2 separate regions of the Homo sapiens genome follow, and region 1 is linked to region 2. The links are contacts of gene promoters, found by promoter capture Hi-C in blood cells and fetal thymus (Javierre and others, 2016). All regions are on one chromosome and are shown on one strand. Each heading gives the region's core, a stretch centred on a gene start or on the middle of the fragment in contact. The rest is flanking DNA. Distances are from core to core; before and after follow the strand shown. Region 1 overlaps MED24 (mediator complex subunit 24). Region 2 holds the start of RAPGEFL1 (Rap guanine nucleotide exchange factor like 1).

Region 1 (3,764 bases), core at 455-2,954, 150 kb after region 2:
GAAGAGAGCCGGATGTGAGTGTACACCTCAGCGTGCACGTGCTTCACAATGTGCATGCTTCAGCATGTGCGTGTGCTTCAGCATGTGCGTGTGCTTCAGTGTGTGCGTGCTTCAGTGTGTGTGTTTCAGCGTGTGTGTGCTTCAGCGTGTACGTGTGCTTCAGCCAGTGTGTGTGCTTCAGCGTCTGCGTGCACCCACAACATACACCCAGGCTCCAGGCAGAAAGCAGCCAGGCAACTCAGGCCGATGCCTCCAGCAGACAAGGTTGCCTGAGATGATCAGGGCCTGGTGGCCCTGGAAACCAGATGGACACTTCTGCCTCTTTCTAGGACTTCACTGAGGATGTCAACTGTGCTTTTGAGTTCCTGCTGAAGCTCACCCCCTTGTTGGACAAAGCTGACCAGCGCTGCAAGTATGAGCTCCCCTGGTCACCCCCGCCCTACTGGAAGGCGTTCTGGGCTCTTCCCCTGATCTCTGTGCCAGAGAAGCCTCAGGGGACTCTGTCTCCTTGTTCACTCCCCTTGGCAGGGGCAGGAAATAGGAGCCCACAGTTGCCAAGTCCCCAGAGCCCCTCTACCGTCCCTCAGGCACTCCAGATTTTCCTCATCCTGAAAGAGGGAGGATGCTGCTCAGGGACCTGCCACTCCCACCCCTCACCATCCTATCCAGGTGCCCAGTTCCCTCAGCATCTTTCTCCCTCACAGCTGTGACTGTACAAACTTCCTGCTCCAAGAATGTGGCAAGCAGGGGCTTCTGTCTGAGGCCAGCGTCAACAACCTTATGGCTAAGCGGTAAGTGTGAACGCACCTGTGCTACCCCAAGAGCCCCTTGACCTCTCTCTTGTTACGGTGGGGCTGCTGCGTGCCTTTCAACCTCCTGTCGAAAGTTTGGGCTGCAAGTGACTGGGACCGTGCCTGGGGGTACAGGGAACAGGAAGGAAAAGAAAGCACAGATGTCTTCAGACCAGAGTTTTACACTCTTAGTCACTGCTCTTTAACTCATACCCATCTTTGTGATAAAAGTAAAAATCCTAGGCTGGAGGCGGGTGGATTACTTGGAGGCCAGGAGTTCAAGACCAGCCTGCCCAACATGGCAAAACCCCATGTCTACTAAAAATACAAAAATCAGCTGGGCGTGGTGGTGTGTGCCTGTAATCTCAGCTACTCTGGAGGCTGAGGCACGAGAATTGCTTGAACCCAGGAGGCGGAGATTGTGGTGAGGCGAAATCATGCCACTGCACCCCAGCCTGGGCGATAGAGTGAGACCTTGTCTCAAAAAAAAAATAAATAAATAAATAAAAATCCTGAATCTTCCTTTAATCTTAAATGTGCTTTCAGAGCATTTAAGACTAATGATAGGCCGGCTGCGGTGGCTCACACCTGTAATCCCAGCATTTGGGAGGCCAAGGCGGGTGGATCACGAGGTCAGGAGTTTGAGACCAGCCTGGCCAACGTGGTGAAACCCCATCTCTACTAAAAATACAAAAATTAATCAGGCGCGATGGTATGCACCTGTAATTCCAGCTACTCAGGAGGCTGAGGCAGGAGAATCACTTGAACCCGGAAAGCAGAGGTTGTACTGAGCTGAGATCGCGCCACTGCATTCCAGCCTGGGTGACAGAGCGAGACTCTGTCTCAAAAAAAAAAAAGACTAATGATAAATTGCCAGGTGTGCTGGCTCACCTGTAATCCCAGGACTTTGGGAAGCCAAGGTGGGTGGATCACCTGAGGTCAGGAGTTTGAGACCAGTAGAACATGGTGAAACCCCGTCTCTACTAAAAATACAAAAAAGTAGCCAGGCGTGGTGGTGAGCGCCCAGCTACTCTGGAGGCAGAGGCTGCAGTGAGCCGAGATCGTGCCACTGTACTCCAGCCTGGGCAACAGAGTGAGACCTGTCTCAAAAAAAAAGACTAATGCTAAATCAGTGATTGCAACATTGACTATGCTTCCATAAACTTCACCCCAACCTCGGAGGTTCTTACATGCTTCCCACCTCCTCTGCGCATTTCCTTCCGGGCTTGAACGAGGGAACGTGTCAAGAATTTCTCTTCATTCCTCTTCCCTTCCTTGGCCAACTGGTGATGTCCACAGCAAAGCGGACCGAGAGCACGCACCCCAGCAGAAATCGGGAGAGAATGCCAACATCCAGCCCAACATCCAGCTGATCCTCCGGGCGGAGCCCACTGTCACAAACATCCTCAAGGTGAGTGTGCCCTTCCCTGGCCACCACAGTCTTCTCTTTCTTCTTTCCAGTGCTCCATCTGCTTGCAGATAAATAAACAGAGGCCACAGACCTCTGTCTCCTTTAGCTTTTATACATAGTTGCTTTGGAGGTAGTGAAAGGGGAGGCAAGGGCAGCTACCACTGAATGCTAACCCGTGGGAGCTTCATTTGTACACCAGGCACTGCAGTAGGCGCTTTCACTTAGGCCATCTCACATGGAAACAACAGAGACGTGGGTGCGGTGGCTCACGCCTGTAATCCCAGCATTTTGGGAGGCTGAGGTGGGAAGATCCCTTGAGGTCAGGAGTTTGAGACCAGCTTGGCCAGCGTGGTGAAACCCAGTCTCTACTAAAAACACAAAATTCACTGGGTGTGGTGGTGCATGCCTGTAATCCCAGTTACTTGGGAGGCTGAGGCAGGAGAATCGCTGAACCCTGGGGGGCAGAGGTTGCAGTGAGCCAAGATCGCACCACTGCACTCCAGCCTCAGCGATAGAGCGAGACTCTGTCTAAAAAAGGAAAGGACAGAGAAGATCCTAGCCGTGACCTTGCCCACTCCAACCTTACCACCTGCATGCCAGTGTAGATGAGAGGGATGGATCGGAGAGCAGGGGTGGGTTTTAGGAATGATTTTCCAGATTGAAGTCAGAAAGATGTAGATTACATTCCAGGTTGTGAAGAGAGAAAATGTGGCTAGGCTGTATCTTGGGTGGGGGGTCTTCAGTGTTCTTCAGGACTTGATTTCCTGTCCTGTCCCCAGACGATGGATGCAGACCACTCTAAGTCACCGGAGGGACTGCTGGGAGTCCTGGGCCACATGCTGTCCGGGAAGAGTCTGGACTTGCTGCTGGCTGCCGCCGCCGCCACTGGAAAGCTGAAATCCTTCGCCCGGAAATTCATCAAGTGAGGAAGGCCAAGCCCCTGACCCCAGGGCGTGCAGGGAGGCTGCGCGTTGGGAGGAGGTAGCAGGGTAGGAGTCAGGTGCCTGGGTCTGGGTCTCATCCAGAGACCCACGGGCCTAGGCAGAGCATCCTGGCTGGAGATCTTGGAGGAAGGGCCTGTTCTCACGACCTAAGTGTTCCTTTCTCTTCAGCTGAGGATGGAGTGGACATGTTTGGTAAAGAGATGAGGGTAAGGGTTGAGGTGTTGAACATTGGGCATGGAGGAATTCCAAGTATGCCCAGTTATTAATAAGGGGCTCTCAAATTCTGTTGCCTTTTTTGATTGCCCTGGAATTTGACATATATAGAACATGGTTCCATTCAGTGAGCCATTCTCTAGGCCTTGGAAATCTTCTAACAATAAAAATCCTTCTGGCCGGGTGCGGTGGCTCACGCCTGTAATCCTAGCACTTAGGGAGGCCAAGGTGGGCGGATCACCTGAGGTCAGGAGTTCAAGACCGGCCTGGCCAACTTGGTGAAACCCTGTCTCTACTAAAAATACAAAAAATTAGCCGGGTGTGGTGGCGGGCACCTGTAATCCCAGCTACTTGGGAGACTGAGGCAGAAGAATTGCTTGAACAGAGGCGGAGGTTGCAGTGAGC
Region 2 (3,681 bases), core at 1,014-3,513:
GCTCCCAAACCTCAGACCCTCCTGGGCTTAGAGTAATGCCTAGAGCTAGACCTAAAGAACCCTCGGTCTTCTACCTCAGAACTAACCAGATTTGGGGCCTTGGTTTCCTCAAAGGCCCCTTAGTAGGGGTGCTGAAAGGGAGTGGTGAAATAGTATCATCATTTAGGGAATAAGCTTCTCAGGGTGTGGTGATTATATTTTAAAGAGGCCGTGTGCCAGGTCCGGTGGCTCACGCCTGTAATCCCAGCACTTTGGGAGGCCGTGGGGTGGGGGTGGGGGGAGGTAGATAACGAGGTCAGGAGTTCAAGACCAGCCTGACCAAGTTGGTGAAACCCCGAAACCCCGTCTCTACTAAAACTACAAAAATTAGCCAGGCCAGTGGCTCACGCCTGTAATCCCAGCACTTTGGGAGGCCAAGGCAGGTGGATCACGAGGTCAGGAGTTCGAGACCATCCTGGCTAACACGGTGAAACCCCTGTCTCTACTAAAAATACAAAAATTAGCCAGGCGTGGTGCCACATGCCTGTAGTCCCAGCTACTCAGGAGGCTGAGGCAGGAGAATCGCTTGAACCTGGGCGGTGGAGGTTGCAGTGAGCTGAGATGGCGCCACTGCACTCCAGCCTGGGTGACAGTGAGACTACATCTCCAAAAGAAAAAAAAAAAAAAGCCGGGTGCTGAGGCCTGCCACCGAAGGGTGGAAGCTGGAGGCGCTTGGACACCCTGGATGCTGCAGGGCCATGATGCCGGCCCAGCCACCTCTCCCCTCCCAGACACCTTCTGAGTCCAGCCCAAGGAGAATACTATCCCCCCCACCAAACTGCTAAGGACAACGCATCCCTTTGCTGATGCCTAAAAGGCAGCTTGGGGCCTGTGCCTGTCTGGCACTGCCTCCCTGGGTGGGTCAGCCTGCGCTGTGTAGGCCTCTGAACAGTCAGGGACCCCAGGGTTTTCAGGGCTAAAGCACCTCTGGCGGGTGGCATGGCTGCGCTGGGCAGCTCCCATTTTAATGTGTCAGGCCCTAATTTGGGGCCACAGGAGGAGGTATTCAACATCAGGGACCCATGGGAGTCAGTGGCTCCAATGCCCAGGGGAAAGGAAGGGTGGCTGAAGGAGAGTAAGAGGCTCAGCTGCTTCTCCAGACGAGGGTGAGGCTGCTGTAGGGAGGAAGGTGAGTACTGCTCTCCTCTTCCGCGGGAGGGTCTGTACCTCCGCTAGGCCCCTAGCCGGCTTCCGCGGACCACTCAACCCTATAACCAAGCCCCGGCACGGCGCCACCCCTACGCTCCAAGGGCAAGGAAGAGGAGCCGGGGCCAGCCCCTGCTCTGGGTGTTCGAGCCCACCGGCTCCTTACCTGAGGCGGCGCTGTCCCTGGTAGCCCCTCCAGCAAGCCGCTCCAGAACCCGGTTCAGAAGATGCTCGGGCCGCTCGGGGGCGCCCAGAGGGGCCCAGGGCGGCGAAGTCAAGGGCTCGCCTGGGGACAGCTCGTCAGATGAGTAGGAGGAAGGGGAGCGCAGGGGCCCCCCTCCCCCGAGAGGCCCGGGCCCCGGCACCTCCTCCAGCTGCAGCCAGCAGGGCCCCCCGCTGCCCGGCTCCTCCGCGACCCCCGCCGGCTCTCCTCCTTCCTCCTCAGGGGGCGGCTCCAGCCCCGGCTCGGCGGGGGGCTCCCGGAGGAAAGCGGGGAGCAGCAGGCGAGACACGCTCTGACGCCGCTGCAACGACCGCTGTCCCCCGGCTGGACCGCCGCCCCCGCCGGGTCCCCCACCCCCTCCAGGCCCACCGCAGCTCCCCAGACCCCCGCCGGGACCTCCCGCCACCGTTCGGCCCGCCAGCTGCGACGTCTGCTTCTTCAGAAATTTCTCCAGCGGCTTCATGCCCCCCCCCGCCCCTCTCCTAGGGGTCGCCGGGGGACCCAGGTATCCCAGGCGCGGGCGGGGGGGGCGGCGAAGACACGATGCTCAGAGCTGGAGGAGCAGAGTAGAGGGCCGTGCCAGGCGCCAGACTGGGGGCCAGAGGGGCCGAGCCTCGCTGGCCAGAGTCCAGTGGCCAGTAGCCGGGGGAGGTGCCAGAGGAAAGGAGTGCTCGCTCTCAGCAACCCCCCATGCCGGCTGCAGCCGGCACGCGGCCCGAAGAGTGGGCAGGCTGCGGGGCCGGTGCGCCCGGCTCTGCGCTGCGGCGGCAGAGGCAGCGGGCGGAGCGCAAGGCTGAGAGGACGCGGCGGCGGCGGCGGCGGCGGCTGCGCTCCTGGCCGTGAAGAGGGGGAAGGTGGCAGAACCGAGACCGCGCCCCCTCCTCCAGTCCCCGCCCAGTCCCCGCCCCTACCCTTCCTCGGCTCGCCCCCGCGCCGCACGAGGCTTGAACTCGCGCGCTGGGGTTGACCGCGAGGGAAACAGTAAGGGACTTGGGTTCTAAGCAGAAGAAATTAAGGGCAAAGGTAAGTCAGAGATTTACCAATGGGGAAGGATTCCTGGCTCAAGGGATAACCGGGTCTCAGCATCATTTCAAAGAGTCAGGACAGGTCTGTGGCCTGGACACCTTCACTCACCTACCTGTGTACCCAAGTCAGGCCTACAGATTGCTGAACCCAAGAGTGTGCACCTTTCTCATACTCACAGAAATATGTGGAGTTTATCTTCCTTCTGTGAGAAGAGCTGGGAAGGCCTCTTGGGTGAATTAGCATTGCCACTGGAGGCGGTGCCCATCTGTCCTCTCTGGTAGGGCACAATAGGTGGTGTGGGCCTGGTCTGTGGGCAGGTACTGGCAGGCAGGTAGGAGCCAGGCAGGGAGCAGCAGGTTGTGGCAGGTCTAGCTGGGGTGAGGAGGGGATAATAGGCAGTGGGGAGGAGACCAGGAGCACAAGGGCACCTGAGCCCAGCTGGCAGCAGAAGGAAGCAGGGCCATGGAGACAGGTGACAAGCCCCAGAACTGCCGACTATCATCAAGCACAGAGCCCAAGTGTACATGGCCATGGAGTGGGAAAAGTGGTGCCAATTAGCACTCCAAGTAATCCTTACTCCTGATGCCCACACCAGGAGCATTCTGTCCTTAAGGATATGCTGCCCCAGAAGGAGTGTGGGGGAGGAGGGGGGTGCATCGTAAAGCCATGCTAAGTGTGAGAACATCCAGGTTAGACTTACAAGGTGTGGGAGTGGCAGCAGGTTCTCGATGGGTTGAGGCTCTCTGGACAATGCCCCACCCCTGTTTACCGAGCACCAACCAGGCAGAGACAGGAATGCTAATGGCTGGGAGTGGTAGTAAAACTGAACAGGGTGTGTATGACATACGTATCAATGTATGTGCATATCTGTTCCCATGTGTGCTAGAGCATGTGTTCACAGAAATAAAGCTTTGCACACCCATCTGTTTGTGGATTTGGAAACAGTAAAAAGAAGACAGCGCACAATTTTGGCTAAGAAGCTGTATTAGAGGTCTGAGTATCAGCTTCCTGTGCTCCCCTTATTGGACACTCCAATATCCCCTGGCTTGAAAGGGGAAAGTGGCTGGAATGGGTTGGAGCTCCCCAGGTAGCATTTTATGAACTGAATAGGAAGAGGGAAGGGCTTCTCTCCCAGCACATGCCACAGTTACCAGATTAAGCCGGTTGCCTTGGTAACCTTCTCTCTGGGCAGGATTTGGGAATTGTTGGTTAGGAAGGGCGAATTGGGGAGTGTGAAGGGTGTAGGG

Evidence for each region. The method cuts DNA at HindIII sites, captures the fragments that hold promoters and counts their contacts. A CHiCAGO score of 5 or more calls a contact.
Region 1: a fragment that was not itself captured here is called in contact with the fragment with the promoter of RAPGEFL1 in region 2 in 16 of 17 cell types (megakaryocytes, M0 macrophages, M1 macrophages and 13 more); the score reaches 13.9 in megakaryocytes.

What each region holds. Positions count from the first base shown.
Region 1 is chr17:40,028,186-40,031,949 of GRCh38, reverse strand. It overlaps MED24 (mediator complex subunit 24), which reads left to right. Exons shown (of 26, transcript NM_014815.4): 11 at 330-412; 12 at 705-791; 13 at 2,091-2,202; 14 at 2,982-3,124. Among named protein-coding and RNA genes, the nearest start is that of SNORD124, 2.4 kb to the right of the region's middle. The HindIII fragment of the contact is 4,950 bases long and covers 1-3,764 here.
Region 2 is chr17:40,176,052-40,179,732 of GRCh38, reverse strand. It overlaps RAPGEFL1 (Rap guanine nucleotide exchange factor like 1), which reads right to left and starts at 2,263. Exons shown (of 15, transcript NM_016339.6): 1 at 1,352-2,263. The coding sequence starts at 1,871. RefSeq lists enhancers at 280-1,134, 1,135-1,991, 2,383-2,883, 2,884-3,384 and a silencer at 2,222-2,351. The HindIII fragment of the contact is 3,169 bases long and covers 177-3,345 here.